Regions from separate parts of the Homo sapiens genome. Here region 1 is linked to region 2. Evidence: promoter capture Hi-C in 16 types of primary human blood cells and fetal thymus (Javierre and others, 2016). All regions are on one chromosome and are shown on one strand. The core of a region is centred on a gene start or on the middle of the fragment in contact, and the rest is flanking DNA. Distances in the headings are between cores, read along the strand shown.

Region 1 (5,927 bases), core at 2,318-4,817, 250 kb after region 2:
ATCTTAGAAGAGATGCAAGCAGCACATTTCATGTAATGTTTAAGACATAGAAAACCTACTGCTTGTTGTATACTAATTATCATATTTACTGCATCTGTGTAATACAAAATCAAAAATGGCCATAGTCTACTAGAAAATCAACTAGAAAGTATTAGGGGGAAAAGGGACAAGTTTTTTTTTCCAATATGGAATTCACAGAGTATGGAGATGTTTAAGCAAAAAAAAGGTAGATAAAGTAAAAAAAAAAAAAAAAAAAAAAAAGTACCTGAAGAAAATGAGAAAGAAAAATAAAAGTGTAAGAACAACAGTAGGGAAATAACAGGTATAGAGATAAAGGAAAAAGGAGGAAGAATTAAGAAACATGTAAGGAAAGATTACATTTGCAACCAAGCATACTTAGATTGGCAGAACTATAAACATATTAACAAAAGATTACCATCAAGAAAGAAAATTCACAACAATGGGAGAAAATATTTGCAAATCATATGCCTGATAAGACTTTTATCTCGAATCTAGAATTTCATATCTAGAATACAGAATATATATTTATATAGAATACAGACTTTTATATCTAGAATATCTAAGAACTGCTATAATTCAATAATAAATCACCCAATTTAAAAATGGTCAAAGGACTTGAACAGACATTTCCAGAAAGAGACCCCTAAGCCAAAAGTCCATAAGCAATAAACATCATGAGACATCAGGGAAACGCAAGTCAAAACCACAATGAAATAACACTGCACACACGACAGGACGGCTACAATCAACGAGAATAATGAGTGTTGGCAAGGATGTGAAAAAACTGGAACTTTCATACAATGATAGTGGGATTGCAAATAGGTGCAGCTGCTTTGGAAAACAGGCAGTTCCACAATATGTGAAGTACAGAGTTGTCATATGACCCAGTGATTCCATTCCATTCATTTCCCAAGAGAAATGAAAACATATGTCCACACAAAAACTTGTACACAAATGCTCTATAGAGGCACTACTCATAATGGCCCAAAACTGGAAACAACCTAAATGTTCCATAACTGATGAATGGATAAATAAAATGTGCCATACCCCTACAACAGAATATCATTCAACCACAAAGGGGAATGAAGTACTGAACATGCTACTACATGCATAAACCTTAAAAATATGCTGAGTGAGAGAAGCCAGTCACAAAAGGCCACATACTGAATGATTCAATTTATATGAAATGTCCAGAGTAGGCAAATCTAGAGACAGAAAGTAAATCAGTGACTACCTAGGGTTGGAAGATTCTGGAGAAAATGAGGAGTAGCTGCTAAAGGGTACAGGATTTCTTTACAGGGTTATGAAAATGTTCTAACATTGATTATGGTGATGATTATACAGCTCTGTGAATATACTAAAAATAACTGAATTGTACTTTAAGTGGGTGAATAGTAGATATGTGGTTTTATCTCAGTAATGCCACTACAAAAAAATTTCAAAATAAATACAAAGGTTGTGTGTGTGTGTGTGTGTGTGTGTGTGTGTGTGTGTGTGTGTGTATTCTCTTTTTTTGGTAAGTTGTGCTACAGTTTTATCAATTCTATTCACTTATTAAAGTATGAACCTTTACTTGGCTGATATTTCTTGGTTTTATATCTGCTTTCTTGTTTTAATTATTTACTCTAATATTTATTATCTCTTTTCACTTACTTTTTCTTGGAAAGAGCTTAACATGTCATCCTTTTCCTTGAGATTCAAGCTTAAGTGTTATTTTCAATCTTTCTTCTTTTGTAATGTGTGCATATAAAGCTATAAATTTCCCTCTAAGAGCTGCTTTAGTTGCATCTCACATTTTAATGTGTCATTTACATTATTCTGTTAAAATATTTTCTAATTTCCATCATGATTTCTTCTTTCATCTATGACTTATTTAGAAGTAGGTTTCTTAAAAAGGTAATGAATTCTGACCAAGTGAAGCTCGCTTAGAAAAATACAAGGCTGATTTCACATTCAAAAATCAAGCAGTGTTGACCATGAACAAGCCATGATGCATTCTGACTTTATTTCATGCCCAGCAGAGTGTACAATTACGAGTTTTGCCTAAACTGAATGTCTGGTACCAGGATGTTACTGACTGAATTGTGCAGCATCCCACACCCCACATCCCCAGAAAGATATTAGTCTTAAGCCCCAGTACCTCAGAATGTGACCTTATTCGGATAGGGCCTTTACAGTGGTAATCAAGGTAATATAAGGGTACTAAAGTGAGCCCTAATCCAATACAATTGGTGTCCTTATAAAAAGGGGAAAATCTGGACACAGACAGACATGCACACTGGGAGAATGCCATGTGACAATTGAAGTTATGGTACCACAAGCCAAGCAACTACCAGAAGCTAGGAGAGAGGCCTGGAACAGATCCTTCCCTCAGCACCCTCAGAGGGAGAATGGCAATGACAACACCGTGATTTCAAATGTGTTGCCTCCAGAACTCTGAGACGATAAACTTCTGTTAAGCAAAAAAGAAAACCACAAAACAAATCAAGCTATTTAATTCACCACATAAACAGAACAGAGGGACAAAATCAACAAAGGATTACCTCAACAAATACAGAATATTCATTTGACAAAATTCAAGACTGATGCATAATTACAACTTGCCAGAAACTAAGAATACAAGGAAACTTACTCAAATCTGATAAAGGTTATCTACCAAGAAAACTAGAGATATCATGTCTGATATTGAAATAGGATCAGAAGAAAACAAGGATGTTTCCTGTAACCATTTCCTTGTTAACATCTGGCCAGTGCAATAAAGGCAAACAAAAGAGCACAAGGATGTGGTTCTGAAGAAAAACAATGTCATCAATCAATAGTAGAATAAAACAAAATTGCTTTAAGGACTAAGATGTACAGGAGGCAGGAATACTGTTTTCACATTGGATAGTCACTTACCATTACCATCACCAGTAGGAATGATATGGTAGAATACATTTGCTTTGGCCTGAGAAAGAAAGAAAAGCAGCCCCTGATGCCTGGAAACTTAACTGATACTCACAGTTAGGGCTCAATGTTGTTAATGGATCTGATGCTTACAGTTAAGCCATGCTGTTCTCTGGTTGGACATAAAACCAACTCAGAGAACATTCAAGTCAGACAAGGTCACTGTGCAACCCACAAAATTCCAAACATCCCCCCTCACTAAATGAGTGATGGCTATTTCTTTATTTTTTTTTTCTTTTTGAGACGGAGTCTCGCTCTGTCGCCCAGGCTGGAGTGCAGTGGCGTGATCTCGGCTCACCGCAAGCTCCACCTCCTGGGTGCATGCCATTCTCCTACCTCAGCCTTCCGAGTAGCTGGGACCACAGGCGCCCGCCACCACGCCCGGCTAATTTTTTGTATTTTTAGTAGAGATGAGGTTTTACCGTGTTAGCCAGGATGGTCTTGATCTTCTGACCTCGTGATCCACCTGCCTCGGCCTCCCAAAGTGCTGGGATTACAGGTGTGAGCCACCACACCAGGCCAACTTCTTTATCAATTACAGCTTTATCTTGTAATAGTCTGTCCTCCCTATATAGATAAAATTTATTGAGATACCCAAGAATAGAAGTGCCCCCACTTTCTGATGTCACCCAATCCACGATAAGGATCTACTTCCTTAATCTCTCCCCAAAATAACCCAACCTATACTATACTCAAATCCTATACTAGGTTTTTTCTAACATCCTCTTACTGATTGATGTGCCTTACAGTTTCCCCATAGTGAACATTATTTCCTCCCTGCAGCAAATAGTAAACCTAACTTTTTCAATTACAAAGGTGTTCCTGCTGGTCTTTGGCTGAAGCGCATAAAATAATAAGCCTAGCCTACTTGCTGGAAGCCAATTCAGCTTGAGATTCTAGCACTTTGTCAGAGAATTTCTAGACTGTGATACATTCTGTATTCATTCTCTCACTTTAAGCCAATTACTTAGAACATATTTCTTATTCTAGCCATTTTATTTAAATTATATAACTAAATCAACTATTTAGAAAAATTACTCTTCATTTAAACAGAAACCTTAATACAAAATGTATATATAATAATACAAAACCTTAATACAAAATTATACAAAATTTGTATAATATAATACAAAACATTATGTTAAGGGTTTTTAATTACAGACTAAAATTTCACACCTTCAAGGTTTTTCCCTTCCCATCATTACAAAGTTTTGCTAACTGCAAAATTTTCTGCAAAAGATACAGATACAATGCATTGTATTTTGCTGTCACTTTTCCTTACTAATTCCAAAACTACAAAATAATTAAGTTTATAATATAAGTAGTATAGTTACCCTTTAAGTATTTCAAAATACTGAAAGGCCATTCTTTTGAACTTTAGCCTCATAATATCCGCATTTCTCAGATATTAGATGGACAGCTGGTAGTTATTACCAATTGCATTAAAAGTATTCCTTTTAAAAAATTCATAACTTTTAATAACCCAATTAAGAACATGAACTCTTACATTAAAAGTAAGCATTCCTTTAAAAAAATTCATCACTTTTAATAACCCAATTAAGAACATGAACTCTGTAGACTGTAGACAGATTCACAGATTTGAATTCCAACTCTCCCAGGAAACCTACTGTGTGAGACTGGGCAAATTACCTAACATCAATTTCTTAGTTTTGGTTACCTTAAAAAGGGACTAATACCAACACCTGTCACAAAGGTTGCCATGAGAACTAAATGAGATTCTATACATTAAGCACTTGGAATGTAGTAAGAACTCAATAAATGGTATAACCATCACCATCTATATATTCAGGATAACGTTTTTAGGAATAAACTAAATATTCAGGATAATGTTTTTAGGAATAAACTAAAGAGTCTAAGACAAATTCCTCTTTGGTATTTTTTATATAAATTAGAAAATCCAACATGTAAACCTCACAGTTAATATTAAATTGCCACCACCAAATAATATTTAATAAAAATATATAATTCAAGAAAAGTTGATTTTATCAATAAAATTGTCATTAACTTCAGTAATAATAAAGCACTCTAAAAAGAATTATAGAATAACTACCATCCATACCCACAAGGGAGCACACTACAGCCATTTACCAGATCTTATGGGTTCTAAATATAATAAAAAACAGACAAAGCAATAAGGAAGTAACACGAACAATTAGTTCAAACTAGTTCAGCCATATCTGTACAAACCAATCAGCAGTCTGCTTTTAGAAATGTATTTTGCATTAGCGAAGCATATTTGAGAAAGATACACATTAGAGAAGGGTGTGTTACCTGCAAACAAGTTTCCATGGCTGTAATACCAGTGCAAAACACTTCCAAGGATCATTTTAGTACTGTCGCCTAGAACTAAGATGCCATTCATAAAACTATTCTATAAAATAAATGTTAGTATTTTAGGTGGCAACTCAAATCAGAAAGCTTTCACATGACTGTAATTCATTTTCACAGAAAAAAGCATTGGTATTTTACGGCAGAAGATGTCTGCCATGTCTAAAAGTAACTGCAAAACATGATGAACTAGTTTCTCCTGAAAGTATTTTTTTCATGAGGATGAGAGTCAAAATAATGTTTTTTAAGTCTCTGTATATTCAAGAACTCTGGGAAAATAATATCACTAATAAAACCTTTTTCTATAGAAATTTATATTTAAATAACCAGAGAAGGGTATGTTACCTGCAAATAAGTCTCTCTGGCTTGGAAATTTTTTTTTCAAATTTTTGGTAAATTATTTTTAAAATATTTTTAAGGAAAGCCCAACGAGCTTCTTCTTTAAATGAAAACATTACTCTCTTCTCTGCTTCATCCCCCTCCACCCACTTCTTTCTAGCAAGAGATCATAGCAATGAAACAACAAAGGGAAGCTGTTATGTCTTAGCCTACAATCTGCCTGCTCAAAAAGCTCAAGAATTTAAATGGCTGTTCAAGAGCTGCTCACAAAC
Region 2 (5,343 bases), core at 637-3,136:
CCAAAATGATTCCTGTACTTTTATCCAACAGGTATTAGCAGCTGATTAACGAAATGAGGGAGGGGGGAATGAAGATGGCATTCTTCTAGACAATAAGCAATCCTGAGCTGACTTCAGATTTATTGCTATGATTGCTTTTTAAAGTCGAGTTTTATTTAATAAGCTTTTAAAACTTTCTGGAACCATCTTCAAGCTTTCTAGTTTTAAACCAAACTTGACTTCTGAAATATATCTCTTTTCTCATGGGCTTCTGCAACTCTCAACTTCTTTTGTAACTTTTTGAGTTCAAATTATTTTTTCTTTCTTCTTAATTATAACTGTCAGTGACAAAGTTAGGTTTGTGTTTTTAATGTATTTCCTTCAAGTTTTTTGGTATTTTGGTTATTCAATAGGTCTGTGATTTCTAAAGTGCTGAACTTCTCAAAAAGTACTTTTTGAGAGAGTTCTCTTTACTTAAAGAGAACTGACTTCCTCAATGGTTGAACTAGTTTACAGTCCCACCAACAGTGTAAAAGTGTTCCTAAAGTGAACATTAAATATTCATACTATATCCTACAGGGACGTTATATTATCCTGAGCAACTTTACTTCAGCCTCAGTTAACTAACAACCTCAGTTAGCCAGAGCTTTTCAATACTTAACTGTTACTTACTACATTTAGCTCTAAACTTTACCAATGAAGCAATAATATAGGAGTTAAAAAGAAATTATTTAGGCAGGTAGCGAGGGTACAGGAGTCCTCAGTAAGGCTTTTTCTTTTCTTTTCTTACTCTTTTTTTTTTTTTTTGGAGACATTGTCTGGCTGTATCACCCAGGCTGGAGTACAGTGGTGCAATCTTGGCTCACTGCAACCTCTGCCTCCCGGATTCAAGCGATTCTCCTGCCTCAGCCTCCCGAGTAGCTGGAATTACAGGTGTTTGCCGCCACGCCCGGCTAATTTTTGTATTTTTAGTAGAGACGGGGTTTCGCCATGTTGGGCTGGCTGGTCTGGAACTCCTGACCTCACGTGATCCGCCTGCCTCGGCCTCCCAAAGTTCTGAGATTACAGGCATGAGCCACGGCGCCCAGCCAGGCATTTTCTTTTAATTGAAAACAGTCTCCAAACCATTTCTTTTCTAGCAAAAAGCAGCCTGAAAAGCTGAACTGCAAGCATAAATAAGCAAGCTGGAAGCTTGCGTAGATGAATGCCCGCAGCTGTACTAAAAGCCAGGTCCACCCAATATAGCGATTTCCCCTCCCTTTTCTTTGTAGCCATGTGTGGGGGTGTCATTGTGCCGGCCGGGTAAAGCCACATGTGTGGGTGTCATGGCGCCAGCCAGGTAGAGGCCGCATTTGCATAATAAAAGATTAGGGTGAGAGGGCCAGTTTCTTCAGGGCTATGTAAATGGCACACTGGTCAAACCAATCCCCTGGGCCCTATATAAATCAGACACCGCCTCCTGAAGCCTCCCTATATAACCTACTGCTTCCCACCACAAGCATGGTTTTTTCCCTTCAGAGCCCTCCTACCTCTCTACCGGTGAGCTGTTCTCTTCTTTCCTGCCTATTAAACTTTCCGCTACTTGACCCGCTCCGTGTTTGCGTCTGTGTCCTTAATCTTCTCGTCACGCGATGACGAACCTTGGGTATGTCCCCAGACAATGAAGCCGCTTCAGCAACTCAACCTTTGAAATAGTATAGAAATACGATATGCATGACTGGAACTTGCATCTGTGTGTACACAGCTACTAAGTAACAAAACATTTCACCAAGAGATTACACCATCCCTGTTCTTTCATTTATTTAACAAAGATATTTATTTAATGCCAGACAATGTTCTGAGCACCTGGGAAATAGCAATGGACAATGCAGATTTGGTGCCCGTCCTCATCCAAGTCCTCAGCATCTGCTTCCTGTATCACAAAAATGACGTCAAACTGACTTCCTGCATTAGTCCTGCCCACTTCCATCCAACCCATCCTGCTATCAGAAAGAAAGCACAAGTCCAATCATGTCACTGCACTGTTGCTAACATGTCAATTGGCAACTCTGCTTTACCTACAGAATACAGTCCAAGTTACTTAATACAGCACAAAGTGCCCGTAATCTCCCTACTTATCTTTTACTCACCTATCCCTTCCCCATGCTCTCAGCTTCCTCCCTACTTCCTTAAAGCGTCATGCAAATTTATGCCGCTGTGTCCTTATTTATGCTACTCCCTCGGAATAGAATTTATCACTTCTCCATAGAGGTGGGAAACATCTACTCATCCTCAAGATTTAACCGGAATCTCAACTTTCCTTAGCTTTTTTTTTTTTTTTTTTTCCTGAGACGGAGCCTCGCAGTGTTGCCCGGCCTGGAGTGCAGTGGCCCAATCTCGGCTCACTGCAACTTCCGCCTCCCAGGTTCAAGAGATTCTCCTGCCTCAGCCTTCCAAGTAGCTGGAACTGATTACAGGCACCTGCCACCGCGGCCGGCTAATTTTTATGTTTTTAGTGGAGACGGGGTTTCACCATGTTGGCCAGGCTGGTCTCGAACTCCTGACCTCGTGATCCACCCGCCTTGGCTTCCCAAAGTGCTGGGATTACAGGTGTGAGACACCGCGCCCCCTCAGGGCTTATTCTTATTCATATTTCCTTGCCCCAACACAGTGCCTTGGAATGAATAAATGAATGAATGAATGAATGAATGAATGACAACATGAGATAACTGAATATATTTCTACTCTGGACTCCAGCACTCATCTATACTCTGTTAATTTCAGTCAATTTATTTCTCTTTTCTAAGTGTGAGTTTCTTCCCCTGTTAAATCAAGAAGTTTATCAGGTTCCTTCCAACCGTAATATCATATGACCTTGAGGTTATAAACTCTCATTCATTGTGAGATGAGTTAAATAGAATGTGATAACTACAGCAGCCACCAGAAGGCAGCAGAAGCTTAACCTTGGAATTTAGAACTTGATACTGCGTTTATCTAAAAGGCAAAACTGAAAAGCATGTTTAATTAAAAATGACTACATTTAAATAGTATATTTAAATACTATATATAAATATTATAATTATATCTAATACAGTGAGATGTTCATACTGTAGGAGGCAGAGAATTGAGGTGGGCTGAGGAGTCCCCATATTCCCTCCAGTTTATACTCTAGTCTAGGGGATGTGCAATTTTGATAGACCAGTGAGTGGGATTATCTACACTGTTGAAAATGTATTTCTTGTACTCACTTTCGTTTTCTGGGGTTTAGGGCGTGAGAATGGTGGGAGTGGCAATAGTGGTGATAGTGATGGAAGTGGTGATTGTAGTAACAAACAGAATTCACCAGTTAAATGTGCCCATAATGCAAGTTCAACTCCAAAGTATGAATTTATTTCTGCCCCGATGAGAGTAGAAATCCAAAGTTCACATTTTCACCATTGAAAATTTCCCATGAACACAAAACAAGGTAATAGAGGCAAAGTCACATGTCTGCAAAGCATAAACCCTTCAAATTCAGCCCTTATACAAAGGAGCTGTAGTGTTTACCCCAAGCTAAACCATCTACTTCAGAAGGACATAATATGATTAAACAAAAACAGTTTTAAAATACATATGACATGAGACCCCTAATGGCACAGGAGTCTTTCTATATGAATTTATTTATGTATTTTAATGTCCAAGCACCTTCTCCTTGCCTCTTCTCAGGCAATAAGATGACCAGGGCCAGGTTTTTCTTCTATTATTTTTTATTAGCCATTTTTATTGATACTTTACCAGGTCTTGTGCTGGGTGCCAAAGGTGTAAGGATGAACAGGAATGAATAAGTAGGACATGGACTGTGCCCCCAGGAGTTTAGATTATGGTGTCATGATAGAGAATACAGTGTGAAGGTTTAGGATTCTGCTTTCATAAAGAAGTCCTAAAACCTCATTTTCGGGGCACCTACATCAATTATATTTTAGCACAGAAAAATTCACACATGGCTGGGCACAGTGGCTCACGCCTGTAATCCCAGCACTTTGGGAGACCAAGGTGGGCTGATCACCTGAGGTCAGGAGTTCGAGACCAGCCTGGCCAACGTGATGAAACCCCACCTCTACTAAAAATACAAAAAATTAGCTGGACATGGTGGCGTGCGCCTGTAATCCCAGATACTTGGGAGGCTGAGGCAGGAGAATCTTTGAACCTGGAGGGTGGAGGTTGCGGTGAGCCGAGATCGTGCCATTGCATGCCAGCCTGGGCAAAAAGAGCAAAACTCTGTCTCAGAAAAATAAAAAGAAAAATTCACACACATGATTTTAAAATCCAGTAGCAGATGTGTTCATAATGGAAAGTGAATGCACCTGATCCCACCTCTGTGCATCTCTGCTCTCTCAGTCACTTCTGCTTTTACTGTTTTGCATATCTAAATAATATGCTTCTATTTCTTGATTTATAAGCTTTAGCAGTTATCTATTAATTTTTTGTATTGATACATGAAGATTTAGCTCATCTTCGCTAGCCCTCTTTCTCACTTCTTCCCATATAGTTATATCTTTTTTGTCGGTACAATTATTGAACACCTTTTTCATTTTAATTAATATGCATGAGCTTCTAGTGTTGTCCTATCAATTGTATATAAAATATCTTGCCTCCCACTTTGTAAGATGAAGATGTTAGTGCCACAATTCTTTCTTCTACCTCCTTCCCATCTCCAAAATTCTCCTATATTTTTCTTTGCCAGGGTTGATAATATTTATTTGGTAACCAAAATAAAGACCTCTGTTCTTTACCTATAACTTGATTCTATAAGTTGAAAACAAGGAAACATTTTCATTATGTGAATATTATTTATATAAAGCTAAATTGTATACCGTGATAACATCTTTCTTTTTTTTTTTTTTTTTTTGAGACGGAGTCTCATTGTGTCGCCCAGGCTGGAGAGCAGTGGTGCAATCTTGGCTCACTACAACCTCCACCTCCCGGGTTCAAGCGATTCTCCTGCTTCAGCCTCCCGAATAGCTGGGATTACAGGCACCCACCACCACGGCCAGATAATTTTTTGTATTTTTAGTAGAGATGGGGTTTTGCCATGTTGGCTAGGCTGGTCTTGATCTCCTGACCTCAGGTGATCGGCCCCTCAGCCCCCCCAAAGTGCTGGGATTACAGGTATGAGCCACCGCACCCGGCCAACATCTTTCTATATAGCCCCAATGTCTCCCTTTTGTACCACAAAGGAAAATTGATTTTCTCTCCTTTTTTAATACCTAATTCTCAAAGTCAGGGCACATTTTACTTTGTTTCATTTTTGGATTATGCCTTCCTTGAACATTTTTTCCTTAGAATTCCTGATTGGATTTCTCTTTTCTTTCCTTGCTGTATAAAGAAACATGTCTTCTTCACCAT

What was found. Contacts are between HindIII fragments. The CHiCAGO score rates a contact against its expected background, and 5 or more counts as called.
Region 1: a fragment that was not itself captured here is called in contact with the fragment with the promoter of GUCY2C-AS1 in region 2 in 1 of 17 cell types (total CD8 T cells); the score reaches 5.0 in total CD8 T cells.

What each region holds. Positions count from the first base shown.
Region 1 is chr12:14,417,909-14,423,835 of GRCh38, reverse strand. All of the region lies in intron 1 of ATF7IP (activating transcription factor 7 interacting protein), which reads right to left. Among named protein-coding and RNA genes, the nearest start is that of ATF7IP, 55 kb to the right of the region's middle. The HindIII fragment of the contact is 3,683 bases long and covers 1,726-5,408 here.
Region 2 is chr12:14,662,179-14,667,521 of GRCh38, reverse strand. GUCY2C-AS1 (GUCY2C antisense RNA 1) reads right to left here and starts at 1,886. Exons shown (of 6, transcript NR_186173.1): 1 at 1,825-1,886; 2 at 1,509-1,663. All of the region lies in intron 10 of GUCY2C (guanylate cyclase 2C), which reads left to right. The HindIII fragment of the contact is 1,745 bases long and covers 1,173-2,917 here.